3 separate regions of the Homo sapiens genome follow, and all the other regions are linked to region 2. Evidence: promoter capture Hi-C in human tissues and cell types (Jung and others, 2019). All regions are on one chromosome and are shown on one strand. The core of a region is centred on a gene start or on the middle of the fragment in contact, and the rest is flanking DNA. Distances in the headings are between cores, read along the strand shown.

Evidence for each region. The method cuts DNA at HindIII sites, captures the fragments that hold promoters and counts their contacts. A contact is called where the count stands out against the background at its distance.
Region 1: a contact is called between a fragment that was not itself captured here and the fragment with the promoter of LRRC27 in region 2, in 1 of the 25 tissues and cell types used here (liver).
Region 3: a contact is called between a fragment that was not itself captured here and the fragment with the promoter of LRRC27 in region 2, in 3 of the 25 tissues and cell types used here (dorsolateral prefrontal cortex, heart right ventricle and hippocampus).

Annotation. Positions count from the first base shown.
Region 1 is chr10:132,589,224-132,592,913 of GRCh38, forward strand. The region is part of intron 1 of INPP5A (inositol polyphosphate-5-phosphatase A); the gene reads left to right. Among named protein-coding and RNA genes, the nearest start is that of INPP5A, 53 kb to the left of the region's middle. The HindIII fragment of the contact is 5,722 bases long and covers 1-3,690 here.
Region 2 is chr10:132,330,655-132,334,545 of GRCh38, forward strand. It overlaps LRRC27 (leucine rich repeat containing 27), which reads left to right and starts at 1,539. Exons shown (of 11, transcript NM_030626.3): 1 at 1,539-1,602; 2 at 2,823-3,080. The coding sequence starts at 2,871. It also overlaps a transcript of STK32C not described here. RefSeq lists an enhancer at 822-1,356 and a silencer at 1,241-1,360. The HindIII fragment of the contact is 23,116 bases long and covers 1-3,891 here.
Region 3 is chr10:132,763,792-132,767,691 of GRCh38, forward strand. INPP5A (inositol polyphosphate-5-phosphatase A) reads left to right here. Exons shown (of 16, transcript NM_005539.5): 12 at 1,982-2,055. Among named protein-coding and RNA genes, the nearest start is that of NKX6-2, 20 kb to the right of the region's middle. The HindIII fragment of the contact is 6,162 bases long and covers 1-3,900 here.

The DNA.
Region 1 (3,690 bases), core at 579-3,078, 260 kb after region 2:
TGCCTGCTGAGGGAGCGCTGGGGTCGTTTGACAGGCGGCACCCACACCCTGCAGGGCCACGTGCGCATGCGGGCTCGAGGAAGCTGTGGGAGTGCCTTCCCACTAGGCTTGCTGTGCGGGTTCTTGAGGCAAAGGGAAGGTGGAGTTTGCAGAAGGTCCTGGATGGTGGGTCAGAATGTGGGCACCTGGTTCCAAACCCTGAGGGTCCCTTTGCCAGGGCCTCCGGTAGGGGCCGCGGTCCAAGCCGAGGCACTCGCCCCTCCTGTCCTTCCTCAGGCCCCACTGGCCACAGCCTCCACTGCTTCCAGCATTTTCTTCCTGTTGGGACGGAGTCCTGCCTTGGGAAGCCTTCTGCCTGTAGAGGTTTCTTGCCGGTGTGCACTGCACAGCTTGTGGGTCTTGTGTGTCCCAGAACCCCGAGTGCTCCCTGCCAGCCAGGGCCCAGGCAGTGCTTGGTGAGTGGGAGAGGGATGGCCCTGCTGCCCTGTCCTCCCAAACGGTGTTGTCTCATGGCCTTCAGAGAGCAGACAGACCAGAGGTGGCCTCGGACTCCAAGAGACGCTCCTGGCTTTCCACTCTCGCCCTGTGCAGACCAGCAGTGCGAGGGGTGTTGTGGGGTTAGGGGGTGACGCAGGTTATCCCATGCCAGGGAGCCCACAGCCTCCACCCAGGGCCACGCCTGGCGCCAGCACAGGGAGGTCACAGAGGAGGCTGGAGCAGGGCGTGGTGGGAGGGCACCGATGTGCAATGCCATGCCAGGCCTCGGGGAGCCCCTCGACGAGACCCATGGCTCCTGCACGGATGGTTTCACATTGTCAACACGGCTGGAAAAGGACACGGTCTACAAGTGGAGGCTCGAAGGTGGCTGAGAGTTATGGCACCTGGGCTTTCCAGAAGTTGGCTTGAAATAATTGGTCAAGGTATGTGGCTGGCGAGGGACGCCAGGGATGCGGCCTCCTGCAGTGGTCAGATGCCGTCCTGTGGGATGGGGCCTCCTGCAGTGGTCAGATGCCGTCCTGTGGGGAGGGACAGTGTGGCCTTCATCCGTGGTGACGCCGTCCTGTGTGGGGACTGACAGTATCGTCTCCGTCTGTGATGATGCCGTTCTGTGTGGGGAGGGACAGTGCGGCCTCCATGATGTCCCCCACACTGTCCGCGCTAGGAGTGCAGGTGGTTTCCAGCAGCTGTCTGCCGGCAGGGAGGCTGGGAAGTCAGGCTGGCTGTGTCCAACACCTCCTGGGGCACAGAGGAGTGTGGGGGAGACACTGTTGGAACACAGGTGTGGACATTGCGACACGTGTAAAGATGTCAGTGGGGCCTGCGTTCGAGGATGTTCCGACCACCATGCTGGTCGCACCCTCCAGCGATGGGTCCTCGGTGCAGTGATCTCAAGCGTCGCGTCTAGAATCACCGCACCCCGTTGCTTCCAGACAGCCTCGGTAGCGTTGAGTCCCCTCTTCCTCTTCCTGGATGTACACAGGGGCCACGTGCCGTCTTTGGAGGTCGTGAGTGTTTGAGTCTTTTCATCTCGGCCCCTGCTTTGCTCTTTCTGGCATTGCCATCTGAAAGAGTCTAGCCCACTTGTCTTTAGGGCAGCCTGCCGTGTGGGTCACTGTGGTCATTGCTCGCTCCGTGGTTAGCTGTGTCCTGTCCGTGGTTAGTTAGGTAGTTGGTTGCTCCATGGTTTTCACTTAGAGATTTTGGGCAGGAACATTACCAAGGTGAGCTTGGGCGCTTCTTGTGCCATCAGCTCTGGGGGCCCAGGCTGCTGTCACAGGGAAGGTGGCATCGCCCCACTCCCAGCTTGGCGGGAGGAGGCTCCTCATGTATGACGCCATTTGGGGATCTTCTGTGACTCCTCTATGGGTCCTTTGCCCGTTTTTCCATCAGTTTTGTTTTGTTTTGTATTTTCCCTTGACTTTTAAGAGTTCTTTCAATTGCAAGAAGATTAATTATCTGTGATATATATTGCAAATATTTTCAACCAGTTTGACATTTGTCTTTTGATTTTGCCATGCCAAAGTTTAAAAAAAGTTAGAGTTGACTCACTCTTTTTAAGGATTGTGTTTGGATTTTGAGTCATAGTTTATTTTTCCATATGAACTTTAGAATCACCTTGTCTGGTTTGGGCTGGGCGGGGCGGGCCGCTGGCAGGCTGTGGGACAGGCCAGGGCTATTTCTGCGCTCGCTTGGAGAGGACTGACAGCTCTATGGCGCCGAGTCATGGTCCCTGGAAACAAGAGAGGTCTTTTCATGGACTCAAAGCTTTTGTTCGTTTCCTTCAGGAATGTCTTAAAGTTTTTCTCTTACACAATGTTCACATATGCAAAAGGTCGTTTGTGAGGTTACCTTTTTCCTTGTTGCATTGGAAGCGGGCCTTCTCTTCCAGCAGGCCTTCCGCCTGGTTGTTGTTGGTGTCTGTGATGGCTGTTGTTTTGTCTGTTAATTTCAGGACCTCCTGCTTTCCTGGATTCTCCTGTTGTCTGTCCTTTTTCTGCCTGCTTCTCTGCCCCTCCAGGTGTGCTGTGACGCCATCTGCAGGTGCAGGGAGCTCAGATCTCCTTTCCCGGAGCTGCGCCTCTGCATGTGTTCCCTTTCGGGTCTCATTCCCTCCCCCGATATGTCAGGTGAAATGGCACTGGGCGTAACGGGCGCCCTTGCTGTGTTTCCTTGTCCGAGGGAATGACTGGGTTTGCCCAGGAGGAAAGAGCCGGCTCTGGGATGAGGTGTCAGCGTGTGTGGGGTGGGATGTTTCGAATCCACGTCTCATGTGGTATTCAGCGTGGTATTCAGCGTTGTTGCTATTAAACAAGAAATAATAACAGTGAAAAGACAAAGCGTTTCACTTATAAGGCTAGAGTATAGAACTGTGCCATAAATGAGGGAATTACGGAAGGATTATATAAATCCAAAAATTATTGAATAAAATACAGAAAAAAACCCCAGAAAGACAGCAAATTAAGGAAATGGCAACAGTTTGAAAACATAAATGAAGCACACATTTGGTAAAGCTACCTGAGAGAGGGAGGGGCAGGTTGACTGCATAGTAGTGTGAGGAACAGGAGGATTCATACAGTTTAACAATCCATTGTAAGATAGTTTGTTAACTATTCGGGGAAAGGTTTAAATTGGGGTCTTACTATAGACATTATACCAAAACAAAATCTAAGTGGGGCAAAAATGTTTGTTTGTTTGTTTGTTTGTTTGTTTGAAATGGAGTCTTGCTCTGTGGCCCAGGCTGGAGTGCAGTGGCACGACCTCAGCTCACTGCAGCCTCCGCCTCCCGGGTTCAAGTGATTCTCCTGCCTCAGCCTCCCAAGTAGCTGGGACTACAGGCGGGCGCCACCACACCCAGCTATTTTTAGTAGAGATGGGGTTTTGTGATGTTGGCCAGGCTGGTCACAAACTCCTGATCTCAGGTGATCCGCCCGCCTTGGCTTCCCAAAGTGCTCGGATCACAGGCGTGAGCCACCGTGTCCGGCCAAAAATGTTTAAAATAATATTAATTTTATTTTCTGATACAGGCATGTATAGTCCTAATCTGAGGCACACGCAGGACTTTCTGTGCTGTGTAACAGGTGGCCACGGATGTCGTGGCTTAAAATAACACCAGTTTGTTGTTTCATGCTTCTGTAGGGTGGAGTCAGGGCTCAGCCTGCTGGGTCCTTTGCTCAGGTCTCACGCGGCTGC
Region 2 (3,891 bases), core at 289-2,788:
GTGCCACCACACCCAGCATTTTTTTTTTTTTTTTTTTTTAATTTTTGTAGAGACTGGGTTGCCCAGGCTGGTCTCCAACTCCTGGCCTCAAGCGATCTTCCCACCCTGGCCTCCCAAAGTGCTAGGGTTACAGGCGTGAGCCATCGTGTCCGGCCTAAAAAACATTTCTTACTGTGATCTCTTCACAAAAATAAAACGTAAATCCCCTCAAAGTGGATAGTCGTTTCTCCACATAATTATGTCGTTTCCTTTAAAAAGTGGAATCAGGCCGGGCACGGTGGCTCATGCCTGTAATCCCAGCACTTTGGGAGGCCGAGGGGGGCGGATCATGAGGTCAGGAGATCGAGACCAGCCTGGCCAACATGATGAAACCCCGTCTCTACTAAAAATACAAAAATTAGCTGGACGTGGTGGCGCGCGCCTGTAGTCCCAGCTACTGGGGAGGCTGAGGCAGGAGAATTGCTTGAACCTGGGAGGCGGAGGTCGCAGTGGGCCGAGATCGCGCTACTGCACTCCAGCCTGGGAGACAAAGCAAGACTCCACCTCAAAAAAAAAAAAAAAAAAAAAAAAGTGAAATCATGGCAGACTCCAGCTAAACTGTCCGGGTTTCCAGAGTGTTTCTGGGTGGGACAGAGGGTGCTACTTTTCATTATCAGTTGGATCCTGGAATGAAGGTGCACGGGACTCCAGGGTTCCACAGGACCACGCGAGCACCTCCCCTCCCGCCCGGTGTCATTTCATCTTCTTCCAAATTCTCAAAACCCTTCCTCAGGACACTCACTGCGTTTCCTCGCCCCCCTCACTCCTCCGTCCAGAGGCAGCCTTACTTCTCCAAAGAGGACGCTCTGAGTCTGCGTTCCCCTGGCAGCAAGTCCTGAGGCAAGATTTGGGGACAAGCAGCTCCTGTGGGAAGTGGCTCCAGGAAGCCCCAGGAGAGACGCGGGGAGTGAGCCCAGCGGGAAGGACAGGCAGCGAGGACCGCTCCAAAGGTGGTGCCTCAGCAGCAATTCTTTTCTGCTCGGCTGTCCTCGAGCAGCCCCGCCCGCCCCGGGCCCTCCGGCTCCCCAGACGGCACTTAGCATCCCGCTCTCTTCCTTCCCCTCTGTGCCAGGCCGGTCGCCCCTCCAGACCCTCGCGGTCTCTACTTGCCCGTCGACCACCACCCCTTCAAGGCCGCGGGCGCGGAAAAACGGATGCTACCGTTGGCCGCGTGCGTGCGCAGGCGCACCACCCCCTGCCACCCCCGCGCAGGCGCACCACAACCCCCCCACCGCAAGCGCAACCCCCCGCCCCAGCGCAGGCGCACCACACCCCGCCCCCTCCCGGGCAGGCGCACCACACCCGACCCCCTGCCGCGCAGGGGCACCCACACCCCGCCCCCGCACGCAGGCACAAACCCCCACAACACGCACACCCCCGCGCGCAGGCGCACCACACCCCTCGCGCAGGCGCATCACAGACACACTCGCGCTCAGCGTGGCGCCTGCGGGATTCCGTACCGGCGTCTCCATGGCGACCGCGTTGGCTGGGTGGCCTCCATTGTCGGGCTGCTGCTCTCAGCGGCGGGGCTCGCCAGCGCTTCAGTGGGCGGGGACGCGGCAGGTGAGACGGGGCGGGTACGGCCAGCTCGCTGAGCCCTCGAGGCGGGCGGCGGCAGGAAGGTGGTGCCTCGGCCCGTCGTGCCCTGTCGCCTAGCTCCAGCCGCGATGCTGACCGCAAAGGCTGCCCTTCTGAGGCCTGGAATGTGAGGCCCAGAGCGTCGGACCCAACTCAGCCTCGCCCGGATGGGGAAATCGAGGCAGGGAGCGGGGGTGGGCGTGCGTGGGGATCCCTTGAAGGCAGCCTCGGAAACCCCACGGAGCCTGCGCTGCCTGGGCCCTGTGTGAGTCCAGGCTGTTGTTTCACTTCTGGTTTTAAGATACTTTCCCTGTTCTGAGGTTTGAAGCCTCCCCTCCTCTGTTTTAAGTTCCGTGATTCGGAGAAAACAAGTGAACTGACCGTGAAAAAGCCCGCGGGCTTCCATGGAATGCAGGCTGCCTGGGGTTGAACCCTGCTGGGTCCCGGTGTCGCCTCTACCCCCCAATTAACTGCGCCCCTGGAACAGTTCCCTAACTGATCTGCGCCTCATATGCCAATCATTGGGCTGTTGAGTGACTTGAATTAGGTGAACTGATGCATTCCAACGTTGATTCTTATTGCCGAATAAATTGTTTGGAAATTGCAAGTGGAAGTGTGCCTCGCTGAATGAGATTTTGGTGAACAATACTTCTGAGTAAAAGTGTTGCTGGACAACGAAAATTCGAGATTAATTTAACAGGTTTTTCCCCGGTGCTTAACTGGGTGTAAGCCAGACTTAGTTCTGGTCACTGGGTCAAAATGGTAAACAAAAGACAGGCTTCCTGGCCTCAAGAAACTAAAAACATAGTTCAAATGGCACAGAACCACACCAGAGGTAAGAAACAGTGCAAATTTCCACCCGCCCCTAGTCATTTCATGGAAGCGTTGCAGTTGATTTACAGGCTTTGAAATGTTCCGATCTGTTTACATCCCTAAAATGATCATTACTATTGTGCGCCTTTGCGTTTTCCAGGAGTTAAATCTTGGAACTCCATTGTACAAAGTGAGAGCAGAGAATTTTAATCTGAACCTCTTTGTATTCCTTTTTTTTTTTTTTACATGTTTAAAAGTCAAATTTTTGCTACTGCTTAGGAAAAATGATAGCTTTTAAAGCAAGTTACATTACAGTAGATCTGCCACACAGCTATTCTGTTTTGCCTCGGTATAATTAGTTGCTTCTACGTTTCCCTTTCCCGTGTCTCCAGGTGACTCCAGACCAAGGAGGATGAGCTGCTGTCCCTGGAAGAGAACGGATGGAGGGAAGCAGCTCCTACGAAGTTCCCTCTGTGGCTGCTGCTGATCTGGAGGAGGGTGCTGGTCAGACTAGGAGCTTGCCTGCCACCCCCTCCAAAGATGTTCACAAGGGTGTTGGAGGCATCATCTTTTCCTCCTCACCGATTTTAGACTTGAGTGAAAGTGGTCTGTGCCGTTTGGAGGAGGTCTTTAGAATCCCCAGCCTTCAAGTAAGTGGGGCTGCTCCTCAGGCTGTGTGCCCACAGGTCCCCTATAGACAGAAATGGGAATGTACCCCTGGGCTTTATTTGTAGGCTTCTTTCTCTTTGGAATTGATGAATTCTAAAATTAAATAGAGGAAAGGTTAACTCATAGTTTCATACGCCAATCACAACAAAATGGGAAATTCATGATGGGGACCAACCAATGGAAATAGTACATCTATTTAGATGAAGGTGTCTGTTCTCTTCCTTGCAGTTCATCTCTCAAAACCTGTGGTAGAAACTACTGCCAAACACGCTTGGTCTCTTAATTAAAACACAAAACCTTAAAGAAAATCAGGCAACATGAGCAGTTAAAAACTTTGTTCTCACCCATGATTTTGCTCATGTTACACACTGGTTTTACTTTGTGCCCGGCCCTTCTCCGGGTCAGTCCGCAGTAGATGCTGTCTTGTCCATGTGATTTCTAGAGAAAGCTTCTGTGAGGGCACAGGTTTGATGTTAGACAGTTGAGGGTTCCCCCTGCAGCACTTGTCCCTGCTGGGACTCACAGAATTTCCTTAAACCTCATTTGGTTTAATCTGGAATGTCGGAATGATCATGTTTTCACATCATTTATTGTGAAAATGAATAATGTGAAAGTTCAGTGTCTGGAACATAGTTATGATATTGATTGACTTTCTTTTTGTATTTTTAGTAGAGATGGGGTTTCACCATGTTGCCCAGGCTGATCTTGAATGCCTGAGATCAGGTGATCTGCCTGTCTCAGCTTCCCAAAGTGCTGGAATTACAGGTGTAAGCCACCGCACCTGGCCAGATT
Region 3 (3,900 bases), core at 137-2,636, 430 kb after region 2:
TGCAAACACACATGCCTGTACACGCATAAACACATCTGCATGCAAACACACACATGCCTGTGCATGCATAAACGTGCCTGCATGCAAACACATGCCTGTGTACACATAAACACGCATGTGCAGAATTGCTCCAGAGCCCATGCCCCTACTCTGCCTTTGAGGAGGGGCATCCGTCTCCCGAGGCCTCCGCTGCATCCCCACCCCATTTAGGAGCTGACTTGGGGCCCTTCCCAGAGGCTGTGGGTGCTGGAGGGAGGGAGTTGCTCCCTGGAAGGGGAACTGGAGCTGTACCCTCTTAGGAGGCAGGAGGCAGTGGGGCTGTGAACGCCTGTGCTCCAGGCAGGAGGCCTGGGCCGGTGGCTCAGGTAGCAGCCTGGCACAGGGTAATGACTGTGTGCATGAGGCTGCTGATTGCCCATTTCAGGGATAATGGACGAGGTCACAGGAAGAGCTGGGATATGGTGTGGTTTTGAGGGAGCTCTAGCTCAATGCCATGCCCTGCACAGCTGTGGGGCCATGACTAATGAATAGCACCAGAGAGGGTGTGCATGGTGACCGCACAGGAACATGGCCGGGCCAGTCCTGCAGGGTTGAGAGGGTGTGTGTGGTGACACTCAGGAACACGGTCGGGTCAGTCCTGCTGCGGTGGGAGGGTGTGCGTGGTGACACTCAGAAACACGGTCGGGTCAGTCCTGCAGGGGTGGGAGGGTGTGTGTGGTGACACTCAGGAACACGGTCGGGCCAGTCCTGCAGGGGTGGGAGGGTGTGCATGGTGACAGGAACACGGCCGGGCCAGTCCTGCAGGGGTGGGAGGGTGTGCGTGGTTACACTCAGGAACACGGGCCAGTCCTGCAGGGGTGGGAGGGTGTGCGTGGTGACACTCAGAAACACGGCCGGGTCAGTCCTGCTGTGGTGGGAGGGTGTGTGTGGTGACACTCAGGAACACGGTCGGGCCAGTCCTGCTGCGGTGGGAGGGTGTGCGTGGTGACACTCAGAAACACGGTCGGGCCAGTCCTGCAGGGTTGAGAGGGTGTGTGTGGTGACACTCAGAAACACGGCCGGGTCAGTCCTGCTGTGGTGGGAGGGTGTGCGTGGTGACACTCAGGAACACGGTCGGGCCAGTCCTGCAGGGGTGGGAGGGTGTGCGTGGTGACACTCAGGAACACGGTCGGGTCAGTCCTGCTGCGGTGGGAGGGTGTGCGTGGTGACACTCAGGAACACGGCCGGGCCAGTCCTGCAGGGGTGGGAGGGTGTGCGTGGTGACACTCAGAAACACGACCGGGTCAGTCCTGCTGCGGTGGGAGGGTGTGCGTGGTGACACTCAGGAACATGGTCGGGCCAGTCCTGCAGGGGTGGGAGGGTGTGTGTGGTGACCGCTCAGAAACACGGTGGGCCAGTCCTGCAGGTGTGGGAGGTGATGCCCGCCTGGGGCTTGTTTTGGAAGAGTCTCAGGGGGCAAGGCCATTTGCTGCCTCCCGTGCATGTGAGAATGAACATTTTGCCCCCGAACTGCTGCCAGAATCTCACCAGTGTGCACCTTGGGGCCATTTTCCCTGACCTGTTCTCACAAAGCTGACATTGCTCACTCTGCAGGTTACTTGACACTCTGGGCAGGACAGGAGCTGTGTTCCCTCTGCTGGGGGAGCCAGCACTAGGGAGGAGAGGCCGAGAGGGGCTGCTACTGGGGCTGCCACGGCAGTGCCCGAGGCCATGAGTGCTTCTCTGGCGTCACCAACAGAGAAAGCTTTATGGGTGGGCAGAGCACATCTATAACGGGCAGGGCAGGTCCCACTGTCTGCAGCAGAGGCAGGCGAACACCAGAGCCTGCTGGCACCACAGAGCTTTCTGGTGACAGATGTGGCGGCTCTGGGAAGAGCAGATGTCACACCGAGCATTTGAGCGTCCCAGCTGCACACAGACACACGTGCCCCCAGCGAGGAAAACCAATGTGACTTTATTTTCTGCTCTTTCTTTTCTTTAGCTCTTGGAGTTTGACAAGGAGTTGTCTGTCTTTAAGGACAGACTGTATGAACTGGACATCTCGTTCCCTCCCAGGTATGGAACATGCTGTTTGCTGGATGAACCCGGCCGGGAAGGTGGCGTCTCCACCCTCCCAGTCTCTGGTGCATCTGCGTGTCTGTGTGTGCCAGTTTGTGCTGGGCATGAGTGTGTGCATTCTGTGTGCATCCAGAGTGTGTGTACCATACCTGTGTGTACACGTGTGTGTTGTGCATCTGTGTGCACAGGTGCGTCTGTGTGTGAACGTATGCGTCTGTGTGTGTGCACATGTGCACGAGTGTGTGTGCACGAGTGCATCTGTGTGTGCACCTGTGCATCTGTGTGTGCACGTGTGCATCTGTGTGTGCACGTGTGTGTTCTTGTGTGCATAGTGTTTTTGTGTGTGCACATGTATCTGTGTGTCCTGCACTTGTGTGCAAACTGCACCTTCTCCTGCCCTTTTCATGACATGAAAAAAGCAGCTGAGAGTAATAAGTAATTCTGTTATCTTTTTCCAAAAAAGGTTTTTTCCAATATGCAAAATACTTTCTTATCAGACTTGCTCACGAGGGACCTACGGGGACTGTGTGTTATGGATCTTTCTGGCAATATCGGGGCCTCCAAATGCAGTGTGTCTATGTGGGTGTGGATGTGTTTAAGGCATGCGTGTGTGTGCCTGGGTTTGAATGTGCAGATGTTGCGTGGGTGTCCGTGTGTGTGCAGACCTGGTGCAGATGTGCGTGGGGCGTGCGTCACACAGTTGTGGATGTGTGTGCATAAGGTGTGCTCGCGTACATGGTTGCATATGTGAGCATGAGTGAGAGCATGAGTGAGAACATGTGTGACGTGTGTAGGGCTCATGCATGTGGCTGTGCTCCACGGATGTGTGTGCACATGTGTGTGTGTTCACGCGTGGAGATGTGTGCCTGGGTGTGGATGTTTGTGTGCATTTTTATGCAGATTTGCCAGCACAGAGCAGTTCTCACTGTTGGAAGCCGCAGGGGACTTCCACTGGCAGATGTGGACTTTGCCTGTCAGCTGGGAGCAAGATTGGGAGCTGGAGGTGCGGCCTCAGGGAGCCTGGGTGGGAGCTGGAGGATGCGGCCTCAGGGAGCTTGGGTGGGCTTGGGTGGGAGCCGGAGGTGCGGCCTCAGGGAGCTTGGGTGGGAGTTGGAGGATGTGGCCTCGGAGCTTGGGTGGGAGCTGGAGGATGCGGCCTCGGAGCTTGGGTGGGAGCTGGAGGATGCGGCCTTGGAGCTTGGGTGGGAGACAGAGGATGCGGCCTCAGGGAGCTTGGGTGGGAGCTGGAGGATGCGGCCTCGGAGCTTGGGTGGGAGCTGGAGGATGCGGCCTCAGGGAGCTTGGGTGGGAGCCGGAGGATGCGGCTTCAGGGAGCTTGGGTGGGAGCTGGAGGATGCGGCCTCGGAGCTTGGGTGGGAGCTGGAGGATGCGGCCTCAGGGAGCTTGGGTGGGAGCCGGAGGATGCGGCTTCAGGGAGCTTGGGTGGGAGCTGGAGGATGCGGCCTCGGAGCTTGGGTGGGAGCTGGAGGATGTGTCCTCAGCTTGGGGACACAGGCTTTCCTGAAGCCAGAGGCAGTGCTGAGGTCTGAGCCTTGAAAGTGACGGAGCACTTTGGTGTCCAGGGGAAGTTTTTGGACAGGTTGGAGGAGCCTCCAGAAGGCAGTGGTGGCCCAGGCCTCTCGTCCTCCTCACGAGCTTCTTCCTGTTCTGCAAAGACACCGAGGCTCCCTGCCAGGCATGCCAGCCTTATCCTGTGGGAGGTGCAGGAAGCCTCAGGGGATCTCGGGCTCACACCCCTCTTCCTGGAGGGCTCCCCCATCCCGCTTGGATCTGAAGTCTGACTGCTAGACACACGGGCCCCCAGAGAGCCCCTCGCGCCCA